Linked DNA regions of Homo sapiens: regions 1 and 2 are each linked to region 3. The links are contacts of gene promoters, found by promoter capture Hi-C in blood cells and fetal thymus (Javierre and others, 2016). All regions are on one chromosome and are shown on one strand. Each heading gives the region's core, a stretch centred on a gene start or on the middle of the fragment in contact. The rest is flanking DNA. Distances are from core to core; before and after follow the strand shown. Region 1 holds the start of FBXO40 (F-box protein 40). Region 2 holds the start of IQCB1 (IQ motif containing B1). Region 3 has its middle 28 kb from the start of CSTA.

What was found. Contacts are between HindIII fragments. The CHiCAGO score rates a contact against its expected background, and 5 or more counts as called.
Region 1: a contact is called between the fragment with the promoter of FBXO40 here and a fragment that was not itself captured in region 3, in 1 of 17 cell types (total CD8 T cells). The highest score is 5.5, in total CD8 T cells.
Region 2: the fragment with the promoter of IQCB1 here is called in contact with a fragment that was not itself captured in region 3 in 1 of 17 cell types (M1 macrophages); the score reaches 5.1 in M1 macrophages.

The regions. Positions count from the first base shown.
Region 1 is chr3:121,591,836-121,596,613 of GRCh38, reverse strand. FBXO40 (F-box protein 40) reads right to left here and starts at 3,235. Exons shown (of 4, transcript NM_016298.4): 1 at 3,112-3,235. RefSeq lists enhancers at 2,563-3,214, 3,215-3,865, 2,679-3,878 and a silencer at 2,998-3,292. The HindIII fragment of the contact is 3,467 bases long and covers 1,789-4,778 here.
Region 2 is chr3:121,833,569-121,838,451 of GRCh38, reverse strand. IQCB1 (IQ motif containing B1) reads left to right here and starts at 3,392. Exons shown (of 15, transcript NM_001023570.4): 1 at 3,392-3,486; 2 at 3,973-4,061. EAF2 (ELL associated factor 2) reads right to left here and starts at 3,243. Exons shown (of 6, transcript NM_018456.6): 1 at 3,061-3,243. The coding sequence starts at 3,166. The HindIII fragment of the contact is 9,498 bases long and covers 1-4,883 here.
Region 3 is chr3:122,350,757-122,355,707 of GRCh38, reverse strand. No RefSeq gene overlaps it. Among named protein-coding and RNA genes, the nearest start is that of CSTA, 28 kb to the right of the region's middle. The HindIII fragment of the contact is 1,938 bases long and covers 871-2,808 here.

The DNA of each region.
Region 1 (4,778 bases), core at 1,986-4,485, 760 kb after region 3:
AATCTGGATCAGGCAGATATTAAGAAATCCATATTCCATAGCTTCTCAAACTTCAACATGCAAAGGAATCACCCGGGCAAACTTTTTAAAATGCAGATTCTGATCCAGTGGGACCAGGGTGAGGCCTGAGACTCTTTCCTTGTAACAAAATCCAGATGAAGCTGATGGTCTAAGGACCTCATTTTGAAAGGAAAGGGTCTGTTTTAACCTCCTTGTTTCCTAGAGGAGAAACTGAGGCTCTGAGAAGTGAAATGTCTTGCCTATGCTCCCAGAGTCTCTGGCTCTAGTCACGTGCTTTTTTTCTATTGTGCTTTGATGTTTTATTGAAAGAGTCTGTAGAAATCACAGCACCACACAAAGCTACCTGAGTGGTGACAGCCAAGGCATGTTGGCAGCTTAGATGGTACCAAGGGCAGAGTAGGACAAAGCGTGGAAGAAGGAGGAGGAGGTGGTGACCAAGTGTTGCTGGTCAACAAAGTCATGCTAACACGTATAGCAGGTGTATTTAAATCACTGACTCAAGCAAAAGAGAATGGGATTAACAAACAATAGTTTTAACATTCTTTTCTATAATTTTAAAGTTAGTAGGCAAACAGGGTTGATGTCAGGGAGATATTTTTAGGCAAGGGGCCCTCTCAGCACCCCTCACATGATGTCAGTAACTAAACTATTCTGCCTCCTCATGTGGCTGGCGCTGGCAATAATGATTTATTTCTGAGCTTTAACTTCAGTGAAAGTGACAAGGTTAAAAGTTAAAGGTCAAAGATTTTTTAACTCTTAACCTGTTAACCAGCCAATTAATTAGTTACTTTAATTATGCATTGTTGACCTGTTTCCCTGCTATGGAAATATTTAATTGTAGGGAAAGAAAATGTATAAAGATAATTATTAAAGTAATCTCTTTGCCTTCTTGAGATTTTAACACAATCACTTTGCTGAGGCTAATTCCCACATTGGGTTCCATAATCCTTGGCTTCGACGCTGCGATTCCAGTACCTTCACTGTATCCTAAAACAGAACCACCCTCTCCCAGATCCATTCCACTTCACAATCTGAAGTTTTCCACCTATACTAGAAATCTCTCTAACTTTATACTTATTAGTTATTGAATTAGCTAGTTAATTCTTATATCTGGTGCTTTTGTATCAGTACTATTCTATTAAATTACAGTTGCATTGGCCAAGATAGTGCTAAAGTAACTGGATTATCTAGGGGTAGCTGGGACTCAATCTGTCTGCTTGGTTACTTGTAAGCCAACACACCCTAGTTTCACCAGGACAGCATCCCAGCATACACCTTGGAGACCTTGGTGCTGTGGAGGCCCTGGAAAAATTAAATGAAGTTAGGTGATTATACACAGTGAATTTGCTTGTGCCCAGGAAACAGGCATAATGATAACCCAGACACCTATAGCAGAGTCTTGGGGTACATATGGAGGTTACAGAGACAGGCAGGAAGGAACCAGGAGTTAAGGTATCTGAATAGTTAGTTTAGGTCTCCTTTTACTTGGCATCGGTGGCTTTAGCCTGTACACATCAAAGGTCAGAGTGTACAGAATCCCTTTTGCTGCATAGGCCACTTCCCAGGATGTCCTTAGCTGAACTTTGAACCAGTGAAAAACAAGAAAATAAACACTGCTCCCTTACCTTGCCAATTTTTAGTGCATGCAACACTATACAGTTATTCCAGAAGCGAGAAACTATCTGTCTAAAGTTATAACTTTTGATACCTCAAGTATCATTAGTCATTTTACTTTTATCCCTCTGAATATGCAAAATTGTTCAAGCTTGTAACAATCTTTGGTTTTGGTGCATAAGCCTATATAAGTTTTTCAACTTGAGAAATATTTCACTTATATTTCATGGATGCATTTTGGACTCAAGAGAGCTGGGGAGAAGAGGGCCACACTTAGAGAATATTGTTGGCGAAAAAAAGGTGTTAAACTCTGCGGAGTTTGAATAGTATATACAGAAAATACAGTTGTGCTTATTAACCAGTAGTATGACACAGCAGACGAAATTTTAAGCTACATGAGAATGACTTGCAAGCAAACATAGCAAATGTTGACTGGAGAAAAGATCACAGCATTTAGACTTTAGAAAACAGAAATTCTGATCAGGCACAGCGGCTCATGCTTGTATTCTCAGCACTTTGGGAGGCCGAAGCGGGTGGATCACTTGAGGCCAGGAGTTCAAGACCAGCCTGGCCAACATGGTGAAACCCCATCTCTACTAAAAATACAAAAATTAGCCAGGCGTGGTGGCACAGGCCTGTAGTCCCAGCTACTCAGGAGGCTGAAGCAGGAGGCTCTCTTGAACCTAGAAGGTGGAGGTTGCAGTGAGCTGAGACTGCACCACTGCACTCCAGCCTGGGCAACAGAGTGAGACTCTGTCTCAAAAAAATAATAACAATGAATTAAATAAATAAATAAATAATAGAAATTCTGGGCCAGGCACAGTGGCTCAGACCTGTAATCCCAGCGCTTTTGGAGGCTGAGGTGGGCGGATCATTTGAGGCCAGGAGTTCAAGACCAGCCTAGCCATCAAGGTGAAACTCTGTCTCTACTAAAAAAATACAAAAATTGGCCGGATGTGGTGGCATGTGCCTGTAGTCTCAGCTACTCGGAAGGCTGAGGCAGGAGAATCACTAGAACCTGGGAGGTAGGGGCTGCAGTGAGCCAAGATGGTGCCACTGCACTCCAGCCTGGGTGACAGAGCAAGACTGTCTCAAAAAAGAAAGAAAAGGGAATAGAAATCCTGGATTCTAGGCCTTCCACTTGTTTCCTCACCACCTCCTCCACTTCCCCAGATCCCCCCACCCATCACCATGTTGTAACTTTACAGATATCATAACTACTCTTGTTGATTATAGAAGAAAGAACCTAAGCTGTCAGAAAGCAAGTACTCTACCTGCTCTTGAAATGGAAACAGAAATTTACACACGGCTGGATCTCATTCTCAGTGCCAGCCTTTCCCCCACATCTTTACATAACTAATTTGCTTAACAATCCTCTTCCACAGGACACAAAAGTGATATGCGGCTCAGCTTCATCTGCATATTCACCACTGAATGTCCTCGTCATGGTGCACCTGCTCCTGTTTGAATACTTACCTTAATGGAACAGGCTGAGTCAGCATCTGCTTGCACCTGAACCCTTGATTGCAAGTAAGCGGATTGCCGGGAGGTGGCTGGGTTGCATCAGCTGCAGTAGAGGACAGCGTTCTGTTGGGAAGGCAGGGAAAGGAGAGAAAACTTCAACAGAAATAGTCCAAGTGTTGCGAAGTTAAAAATAAAACGATATCACAAGGGGCAATGTGACCAGGCTCAGCTTACGACTTTTTCCTTCCCCTGTATTTATCAACACTCAGTCTCTACTGGAGTGGCATTTAGCAGGGGAAACTGAATGGGAAGTGAAGTTTTATATCAATAGGTTTTCTTTCCCTTGAGGAAGGAGGAAAATCCTTTTAAGAAGGATCATTTTCAAGGCCAGAACAGCCTCTCAGATTCCTGCATGTGCAGTCGGCAGGCCCAGCTGTGCTGAAGGAGGCTGGCACAGCCTTCAGGACTGGCTGCTGCTCTAATTATAACCATGCTCCTCACCTAAACCCATCACTGGCTGAAGCAGCAACTTGTGCAAATGACATGGTGTCCTGCTTCAGTTTCTCCTATCTCTTGTCGTGACAAGTAAGTGTCTGTCCTCCCCTGGTCCTTTCATCTTTCCTGGAAAAGGGAGAGTTTGTAATTCAGATACCAGGTGTAGAGTAAATCCAGTGTGAGAGAATTAGAGGTTGTAGGAGGCTTTAGCTGTCATTTAGTCCAGCTCCCTCTTTTTACAGATGAGGAGACAGAGATTCAGAAAAGGGAAATTGCTCATCCAAGGTCACACATCTCGTTAGTGGAAGAGCCAGAGGAAAGCCCCAGAGAGCTTGTTTAACTCTCAGTCTAGCGTTCTTTATCTTATCATCTTCAGATAAACTCATTCAGGATCTTGTGAGTGAAAAAAATATAGAATCCCGGCTTTGGTGTTTTCTTTTTCTTTTTTTTTTTTTTGAGACAGAGTCTCGCTCTGTTGCCCAGGATAGAGTGCAGTGGCGTGATCTCGGCTCACTGCAACCTCCACCTCCTGGCTTCAAGTGATTCTCCTGCCTCAGCCTCCTGAGTATCTGGGATTACAGGCACGTACCACCATACCTGGCTAATTTTTGTATTTTTAGCAGAGACGGGGTTTCACCATGTTTGTCACGCTGGTCTCGAAATCCTGACCTCATGATCCTCCCACCTCAGCCTCCCAAAGTGCTGGGATTAGGTATGTGATTTTGACAAATTTACTTAACCATTTTCTATTTCAGTTTTCCCCATTGTGAAATGGCGATGATACTTGGTGCGACCACAGGTAACTGTGTCAGTACACATAAGGCACATGAATGATATGTACCACATGCCAAGTGCTCCACAATGCCAGCTGTTATTTGAATGTATTTGAATGTATTTTGACTAACAGCAGATGTGCTAAATTTGGCTGTGATTAACAGCCATCGAATTAACCTTTCCCCTGGATTCTTCATACATATATGTCCTTGGAGGTAAACTTATTTGGAATGAGCAAATAGCAGTTGAAAATTGTAAAAAATTTCTACACTGATCTTGTATCTTGAAACTTTGCTGAACTGGTTTATTAGTTCTAATAGTTTTCTTGTGGATTCCTTAGGATTTTCAAGACCATGCCATCTGTTAACAAAAATATTTTAACTTCTTTCTTTGCGATTTGGATGCCTTTA
Region 2 (4,883 bases), core at 2,143-4,642, 520 kb after region 3:
CTTCCGAGTTTCAAGTGGTTGAGTTCCAGAATTAAAGAATTTGCTGATTAATCTCATATTCATACTTTCTGTATGCTTCTAAATGTCAAACATATTCTCTTCCAAGTTGCTATGATTCCAGACTAAATAGTTCATTTCTCAGTTCTCCTTGGTTTGGAAACCCTACCACCAACTTTACCATTTATTTATTCTCTCTGGATTTCTTTCATCTATGCAATTTTTTCAGGTTTACAATGGAATTACTTATTATATTGCATGAAGAGTAGAAAACCATTTTCTACTTTGTATTTAATACCTTTTCTGCCAATGTTTATCGCTTTTCTGATTATTTTAACTGTAACATCACATAATGCCAATATTTTCATAAGAATCCACAATTATTATCATCAGTTTATTTTCCGGGATTTGAATGAATTCAACCAACTCCAAAACCCACACTGCTCATTAGCTCATCATTTAAGGACACAAAAAAGTGGTGTCATTTACAAACTTAGGATTTCACAATTCATTGCCTTATCTGGATATAAATAGTAAAACTAGTACTACTCCCAATTCAAAATTGATTCTAGTAGGTCCTGTTATTGAAACTCTTCTACCCGGTAAAGCACCTGTTGCTAAGCATTCAGCTTATCGTTGATAGAACATCCCATGCCCTTCCTACCACATGCCAGACTATCTTTTTGATAGTTTTTATTGCTAAACTCTGATAAATGCTGTTTCAAAGTCTGACTAAATTACATTCATTAGCACCCCTCGTACACATATGAATATAACTCTTCAACATTAATGGTGACTACTATTTATTCTCTACCCTGTGGCAAATATTGTTCCAGGTTGTTTATGCTATCTTATTTAATCCTTACACAAACCATGAAATGTAAATATTACTATTATCTTTTAGCCATAAGAAAACTGAGGTTGAGAGCTTAGAGAATGTTCCCAAAGTCACATTATATATATAGGTGGTGGAGACCAGGATTCACATCCGGGTTTGCCTGAAGTCTTATATCAGACAGGCAGAATTGCTCCTGTAAATAAAGGCAGAATATTACTTTCTCTCCAATGACATTGGCTTGAGGGTTGGTTATAAATTAGGTCCCCCTTATCTGCATGAACATCAGCTTCATACTATTCTACAATTTTCAAACCTCACTCTGAGTTCTTAAGAGTGAGGATTACATTGGAAATGAACCTGTCCTCAAGAATAATAAACAGTTTTATTTAAATAAATCTAAAATGATTCTGTGCCATTACCACACCTGCTTCAACAACAACAATAAAAGAAAATAAGGACTGAAAACTTTTCTAATAGTTCTGTCTTCCACAGGACTAAGTGTGTATTCAAACATGTATGTTTGTTTATTTATTATTGTCATTATTGTTGTTTTGCTTATTTTTGTTTATTTTCATTCTGGTAGCTGGATCATCTGATCCTCTGACTTTCAAGATACTGGCATTTTCAGAACCTTTATAAATGAAAGGCTGTGAAGGACCTGCAAGATTATTTTCAAAGGCAATTTTTTATTCATTTAAATTGGGATTTGTGCCCTACATAAGAGAATATATACCCAAATCATATAGAAATATATTCTTAAGCAAATTTTTATAATCTTAAGCCCTTGTAACTTGAAAAATTAATATTAAGACTATTGCATACCTGAGAAGGAAGAGAAAAGGAGAGAGTAGATACTATTTGAGAAAAAGGCATGGAAAAACCAGATAAAGACGCATATCACACTTCCGGAAAATGGGACTGAAGAGAGAGAAACTGCAGAGCCAGCACAGCACCATCTCATCGTGGGGAGCTCTGGATGAGAAAGTATATGATAAAGAAGAATAAACAAGGGACACTGTTGAAGAGTTTCTGTTCACAAATATCTCACCCATTTATTCTACCAATTGGATGTTAATTTTGCTTTAAAAAAACCCTTTTAGTAAATATATTCTTGCAGGGTTAAAACCAGTGGTTCTTCATACCTTTACTTTGAGTAACTATAACTAAATTGTCTACAACTTAAATAAACTTTTGGGAGAATGTATGCTTTAATTAGTTGTTTTGATTGAACCATGGAACATTTCAGAGTAAAAACCATAAAGGTCTCTAAACAACCCGAGAACAGAATGACTGAGAAAGGCGGAATGATGAGATATTAAGGAAGGGCAAGGCTGGGGAAAGGAAGTGAAAAAATACTTACAGTTTTACCACAGAAAAATGAGAAGTTATAATTCAGTGATCTTGAAGTTTCCTTCCCGCTCTACAATTCTATGACAGTTGTTATGCAAAAAACGAATGTCTTACACATAAAAACTTATATGCTATATTTTCCTTCCTGGAATCTATATCATCCAACTGCTAAAGCAAAAGAGCTCCTTTTTCTACTCCAACAACATAAAAGAGAATAATTTATTAAAACTAGTTCCAGAGGACATAAAGAAAACCAAAGGGTAGAAATCATAGGGAGGTAAGCATCTTCCAAATAAAGAAATTAATAACACACCCTCGAATACTTTGATAATCAGTATTTGATAACTGAGTGAAATCTGGGGTCCAAAGAGATATACAGATCATTGGGATGGTTGAGAATTTCTCCCTTTGCAAAGAACACACCAAATAAGAACCCTCATCTGCCAGAGGTGAGAAAAAGTGATGAAAAGAGAGAATATTGCCCCACCAGCCTCAAGGCATTCAAGTTCCCCGGCATTCGGTCCTTAGTCCCTTCCCATTTGTCACCTTATTATTTTCCTGTCCACCCCTGCATCATCCACCTGTCACGTCTGTCTCCACAGTCACCTCTACAGACTTTTTTCACACTTTCCCTTCCTGTCTGCTGGTCTCAACGCTCTCTGTCCAGGGTTTACCCACATTTGCTCTACTCCGATTCCTTCCACCGACCCCCTAAGACTCCGAGCAGGTTAGAGGATCGCGCTGCCTCCCCCCTCCCCGCCCCGTAGTCTCCAACAGTGTAAGGGGTACTGTGGGAACAAAACCCAGAGGGGTTTGTGCCTCTTCACCCCCATCCCGGGAGGCTCCCCCTCTATCCCCGGATGGTCCTCACTCACAGCGCACAGTGTGGAAGGCGCAGCGCGGCTGCTTCTCGAAACTCTCCCCTAACTTGAGAACCCGCTCGCGACGGTCTAGGTGTGAGAATCCCGCTGCGCTATTCATAATTACTCTCCTGCTTTGACTTTAACTCCGCCACCAGCGCTCACTATCTGCCACCTCAGCCTGAAGCAGCTGCACTTGATCCCGCCAGCCAAGTCACCCAGACTCCACCCCGCGCTCGACGCGCACCGCCCCACCGGAGCGTCTCACGTTCTGATTGGCTTATTAGCAAAGGGCGCTCCGCCCCTTGACTCCGAGGCTCCTAGTCCCGCCTCCAGGCCCCTTCCCGCGTCGCGACGCACGCTGCCCCGGAAGGCCGCGGCGCTGTAGTGCGGCGTGGGAGCCCCAGGTTCTTTAGTGGAAGAACGCGAAGCGAGGATGAGGTAACTTATCTGAGGTGGTGGCTGGGGAGGGAGAGGGCCCCAGGGCGCCTACCAGGAGGCCAGGACCCCAGGCTCCTGGACGAAGTCAGCCGGCTTGTAAGAGCTCTTAACGGGAGAATCGGCCTGCCCTCACGCCCACTCTGTAGAGATCTGGTGTGGAAACTGAGGCCTGGGGAGGTGCAGTGTCCAGGCACAGGGCCTAGTGTCTTATCCAAGGCCTGGTAGCGCGAAAGCCGGGTCTAGAATCTGGAGTAAAGGAGCCCAGAGGCCCCAGAATCTCGGTCCTTAGACTTGAAGCGACGCTGTTACCTCAGTAATCGTTTTCTGACCTTTTTGTACCAGAGGAAGTTTCTTGTGGTCCTAGGACTGGAGAAGGGGATGTGTAGTGGGGAGGAGAAAGAGGATTCGGAGATAGCAACTGCAGACATTTAGGATCAGCCGCAACAGGATCGCACTGAATTTCCTTTTCATTTATTTTCCTCACAGTGATCCGTGGAGGCAGTAACAGGCGCGGCGAGGGAGAAGTGATTCCCGAAGAATCAAGGCTGGGCCGGACCCGGTGGCCTGGCAACAGGGTAGTAGCCTTAAAATAGATAAATAATTGTCTTTTTGTGTCAAATTTCATGAATTTAATGTAAAGATGGGAGAAGTGTTGAATTATAGGAGAAACACTCGAGAAAGTTTACAGATGGTTTCCATAACAGGTGGTTTTTCAGGGTAATTACGCAATCCAACTGCACTCCCTCACCTTCTGCCTTAGGCACATTTGTCAATTGATTTTGGGGTAGGTGGTTATGTCTCCTTCAACCTGTCTGTGTAAATCCTACCCTTTGAAGGTGTGCCGAAGCTGTTTCATATCGTAGTTAAATGCTTTAAGGCAGATGGTGGCTCTAGTTTGAACCCCTGCTTTATACTTAACAGTGTGACTTTGTGCCAGCTAATTACATTCTCCAGAGTTTAAGTATGCTCATTGTTCAAATTGGGAAAAAAATAATAGTATCTGTTCCTTAGAGTTGTTGGAATGATTAAATGAGTTAATACATGAAAGCAATTAGAACAATTCCTGGAGCATGATAAGAGGTCTCCAAATGGTTATTTAAGGCCCAGCTCTACACTTATACTACATTTTAAGACCATCTTGGTGGCTGCCTTCTCTTCTAAATAGAATCATTCTAGGAGGTAGGAATTGCTATTTTGTTTACAGCAAGAAAAATGGTTCAGAGAAGCCCAGTCCTCTGACTTTATGGCCTGTATTCTTATCTGTGTCATCTATTTAGCATTTAACATATATCTGATATTCTTAAGTATATTTTTTTGTATCTGTGTGTGTGTACACATGTACATAAACATACTTTTCTTTCCCAACCAGAACAATAGCAGAGAGTATGTCTTGTGTA
Region 3 (4,951 bases), core at 590-3,089:
CCTACCCTATATTCATTTTTCTCTTCCTTACCAATAGAATCCTGGTTTTGTTTAGGGTAGCATTGTGCCCAGCTTCCCCTGCAGCTCCAAGTATCAGCCAGACAATCCTGACCAATGAGATAGGCTAGGGCATTTTTGAGAAACGTTTACAGTGTGAAGAGAACTGTCCCTTCCTCCTCTTTTCCTCCTTCTTCCTACCTCGAATGTGGTTAGGGTGGCTAGAAGTGACAAGGATTAGGGCTATTTGCCTATGTGGTGACAAAGACGAAAGATGAAGACGAAAACCATGTCTGAACATGGCTGAACAGAAAGAAGGAGAAGGAATTGTGTGTTGTCATTCCAGCCCTGGGCTACCTGCCTTCAAACTTGTTATTATATGAAGGTGGTGAGATGTTATTATCTGTTCATTTGGGGATGTAACAGGGGTGGTTACCCTATTTGGTTAAACCTCTATATTTGGGATTCTATTACATGCAGCCAAATGTAGCCCACAAGTAATATGCTGCTCAAATATTTGTTCAATTAATGAAGATTATAATAATAACCGCTCATTTGCTGAGTGGTTACCACAAATTAGGCTCCATTCTAAGTAATTTACGGCAGATTCTAATAGGAAAATTCTGGAGAATACTAAGCCCTACATGAAGAAATAGGCAGAATTGTGTGGAAGAATTTGGGAGAAATCTATCTTATTTCTCTAAAAGGAAACTTAGCATTAATCGCTGGCCCAACCAGGACCTGTCCATTACTTGGTTCCTAAGGGTGGGGATCAGATCTCTTTAACATATTGCAACGTGTTGGCTGGGTGCGGTGGCTCACACCTATAATCTCAACACTTTGGGAGGCCAAGGCAGGCAGGTTGCTTAAGCTTGGGAGTTTAAGGCCAGCCTGGGCAACATGGTGAAACCCCATCTCTACCAACAATACAAAAAAATTAGCCAGGTGTGGTGGTGTGTGCCTGTGGTCCCAGCTACTCTGGAGGCTGAGGTGGGAGGATTGCTTGAGCCCAGGAGGCGGAGGTTGCAGTGAGGTGTGATCACACCACTGAACTCTAGCCCAGGCAAAAGAGTGAGACTCCATCTCAAAAATAATAATAATAAAAATAAAATAAAATATTTCAACACGTGAATGCCGTTCCCGCCTTGCTCAGTTGTTCAGCCCACAATCTCTCCCTACTTCTCTAAGGACAAATATGCTGGTCAGTCTATCTAAGTATCTCTGTCTGTCTATCTATTTATCTATCTGTCTATCTCTCTCTCTCTCTCTATCTAATATACCTTTCTGCTTTTTATCTACTTATCCATCCATTCATCCATTTGTCATGTGGATCAGATGCCTGCTACATCAGAGCCCTTTCTAAGGAAGACTGACCCACAGCTCCTACTGAAAGAGTGCCCCCAGCTGACCCATTCTGCATTAGGTTGATTAGACTAAGGTTGGGCAGCTCACCCAAGAACTGCCAAACCTTAAGTTGGCCAGTGTCCTATGACATGACTTGGGGCAAAAAGAGGATCTGGGCAATCAAATTTTTCACAGCTTTGAACTGAGAAATACTGAGAGAATTATGTAGTGAGTGGTGCGAAGTAAGGCCTGAAGGAGCAGGGTGATAAGGCACAACAGGGGCCATGGAAGCTCAATGTTCTGAGAAAGCAGAAGCTGTAACAAGGATGTACACTGTGAGGCAGAGAAGAGTTATATAGAGTAGAAGGAAGAACACCAGTGGAAGCTGGCAGAAAAGTAGACACAAAGAGAAGTACAGACAGCTGCTTGGGGAACAGCTGAGACCCATTAATGATGGAGCCCTAGAACAAAAACCCATTACCACAGTTCCTCAGGTTCTTAGAGCTGCCTGGATTCTGATTCTGGCTATGAGACCCAGTTCTGTGTGGGCCCCTTTCCTCTATGAAGCCTGGCTATTTGGCATTTTCTAGATTTCTAAGCAAATGCATCTTTATAAAGAATCCCTGTTACATAAAATAAATTCTCTTGAACCAAAAGAGCCTATCTAAAACATTCCCAGTGAGCCAGTGTCCAAGCAGTATCTCCCTGTTTAAATAATCCACTGACATTAGCACATTATTTTCCTCATGAAATACTTCTCATATTGTTCAGAGCAGCAGGGATGGGTTTGGGTAGCTCCTTGGGTGAAACTCATCACTGCGTCTGAACTTCAAGTCCAACAAGGTAAGCCTCTGAGCCTCCAGGGCCCAGGATGGGTCTCTGGAACTCTCCAAATGAGAAACTAGACAGATGATGATTGATTCTCTCCCTCAGGTAGGGGAGGAAATCTGTTTCCCAGAGAGAACAGAATAAGCCCTGCCCACAGCCCTGGGCACGGTCATACCCTCTGAATCTTCACTTGGCCCAATACCAGTGGCCACACACTGTGCCAAAAACACAGTCTGTGGCAGAAAATTCTAGGAGTGCCTGCCAGAGTACAGATTGAGTCTCTCACCCTTGCAAGGCAAGAGTACATTCTCTGTCTCTCCCTTTGGGGTCAGGCAAAATAATATTTGCAATAGAGTACAAATTCTTGCTTCCAGATTCCATTTCAAATTTGGTGGGGAAAATATTTCAGAGATGTAATTTTTCCTTTGGTTGCAAGAGTACTGCTGAGGGAAGATCGGTCTTTTTTGAGGGGAAACTTGTTCCTTTAACAGCTGTTAATGACGAAGAAACTTCCAAACACTCTTTCCATCAGCAGTTTATCCAGTTGCAGGTCTCTTATTCTCATTACTCTGAGAATCCCAATAATTCTGGAGAATAAGTCTAATTCAAACACCACTTCCTAACCCTTTAAAATAAGCTTTAAAAAAAATAGTCATCTTCTGCAATAAAGTTGTTTTTAAATTATTCCAATTTTTCACTTTTTAACCAATTTGTAATTTGTTATGGTATATATGAAATTTGTATCCAAATTTTTGATTATATTCCAAAATAAAATGCAGTATTTCAACAGCATTTAGTAAATAAAAAAATATTTTTACATTGCTTTTGTTCCATCTGGCTTAAACAAATTTGGCTCACATTTTTTTTTTTCCTTTTGGGGGAGAAGCCTTGCTCTGTCACCCAGGTTGGAGTGCAGTGGCACAATCTCAGTTCACTGCAACCTCTGCCTCCCGGGTTCAGGGGAGGTTCCTGCCTCAGCCTCCTGAGTAGCTGGGATTACAAGCATGCACCACCACACCCATCTAATTTTTGTACTTTTAGTAGGATGGGGTTTTACCATGTTATCCAGGCTGGTCTCTAACTCCTGACCTCAAGTGATCTGCCCACCTTGGCCTCCTAAAGTGCTGGGATTACAGGTGTGAGCCACCATGCCTGGCCTGGCTCAGTGGAATATTTTGTAATACATTTTATACTTTAAGATATATTTTTAATTCCATTACAGCTAGTATTTCCACTACACCTTTTCCCTTTATATCACAGTAGCACTCAACCCTTGCTGACATCAGAATCACCTGGACTATTTTCCAGAGATTCTTTTTTAATCGATCTGCAGTGGTACCCTACCTTGGAATTTTTGGTGTTAGTTTATAAGTTAAGAGACTCTAATATGCAGGCAAGATCAAGAATCCCTGCACACATTACTTGATATTTTTTCCTATTTATTTTTATGTATTGTTACGTTCTCTTTAACATGAAGTGTACCTAACCAGCAACAGGATATGTTTATCTATTTGTTCAAGTCTTTTATTTTGGAGAGTGAATTGTTGTAGAGTCACATGTTACTGAACAATGGGGACACATTCTGAGAAATATGCCATTAAACAATTTTGTCATTGTGCAAACATCATAGACTATACTTACACAAACCTAGATTGTACAGACTACTATACACCTAGGCTATATGGTATAGCCTATTGCTCCTAGGCTACTAACCTGTATAGCCTGTTACCATACTGAATACAGTACAGTATGCAATCGTAACACAGTGGTGAGTATTTGTGTATCTATGTAAACATAGAACAGGCACTCTGGGATACCAAGGCAGGAGCCCAGGAGTTTGAGACCAGCCTGGGCAATATAGTGAGACCCTGTCTCTACCAAAAAAAAAAAAAAAAAGAAAGAAAAAAAATTGGCCGGGCGCGGTGGCTCACGCCTGTAATCCCAGCCCTTTGGGAGGCCAAGGTGGGTGGATCACGAGGTCAGGAGATCAAGACCATCCTGGCTAAAACGGTGAAACCCTGTCTCTATTAAAAAATACAAAAAATTGGCCAGGTATGGTGATGGGCGCCTGTAGCCCCAGCTACTCGGGAGGCTGAGGCAGGAGAATGGCGTGAACCCGGGAGGTGGAGCTTGCAGTGAGCTGAGACCACGCCACTGCACTCTAGCCTGGGCGACAGAGCGAGTCTCCGTCTCAAAAAAAGAAAAAAAAAAGAAAAAAGAAAAGGAAAAAATCAGCCAGGCACGGTGGCATGTGCCTGTAGTCTAAGGTACTTGGAAGGCTGAAAGAGAAGGATCTCTTTGAGTCCAGGAGTTTGAGGTTGCAGTGAGCTATGATCATGCCACTGTACTCCAGCCTGAGTAATAAAGTGAGACTCTGTCTCCTAAAAAAAAAAAAAAAAAAGAAAGAAAGCAAAAAACAAACAAAAAACCCATAGAAGGGTACAATAAAAATCAGTATAAAAGATTTTTTAAATGGTGTAATAAACAGAACTTGCAGGAGTGGAAGCTGCTCTGGGTGAGTCAGTGAGTGGGTGGTGAGTGAATGTGAAGGCCTGAGACTCACTGTGCACTCCTGTAGACTTTATAAACACTGTACACTTAGGCTACACTACATTTATTTTAAATTTTTTCTTTCTTCAACAATAAATTAGCCTTAGCTTACTGCAAAATTTTACTTTATAAACTTTTAAAACTTTTTGGCTCTTATAATAACACTTAACTTAAAAGAGAAACATTGCACAGCTGTATAAAAATATTTTTCCTTTATATCCTTATTCTAGAA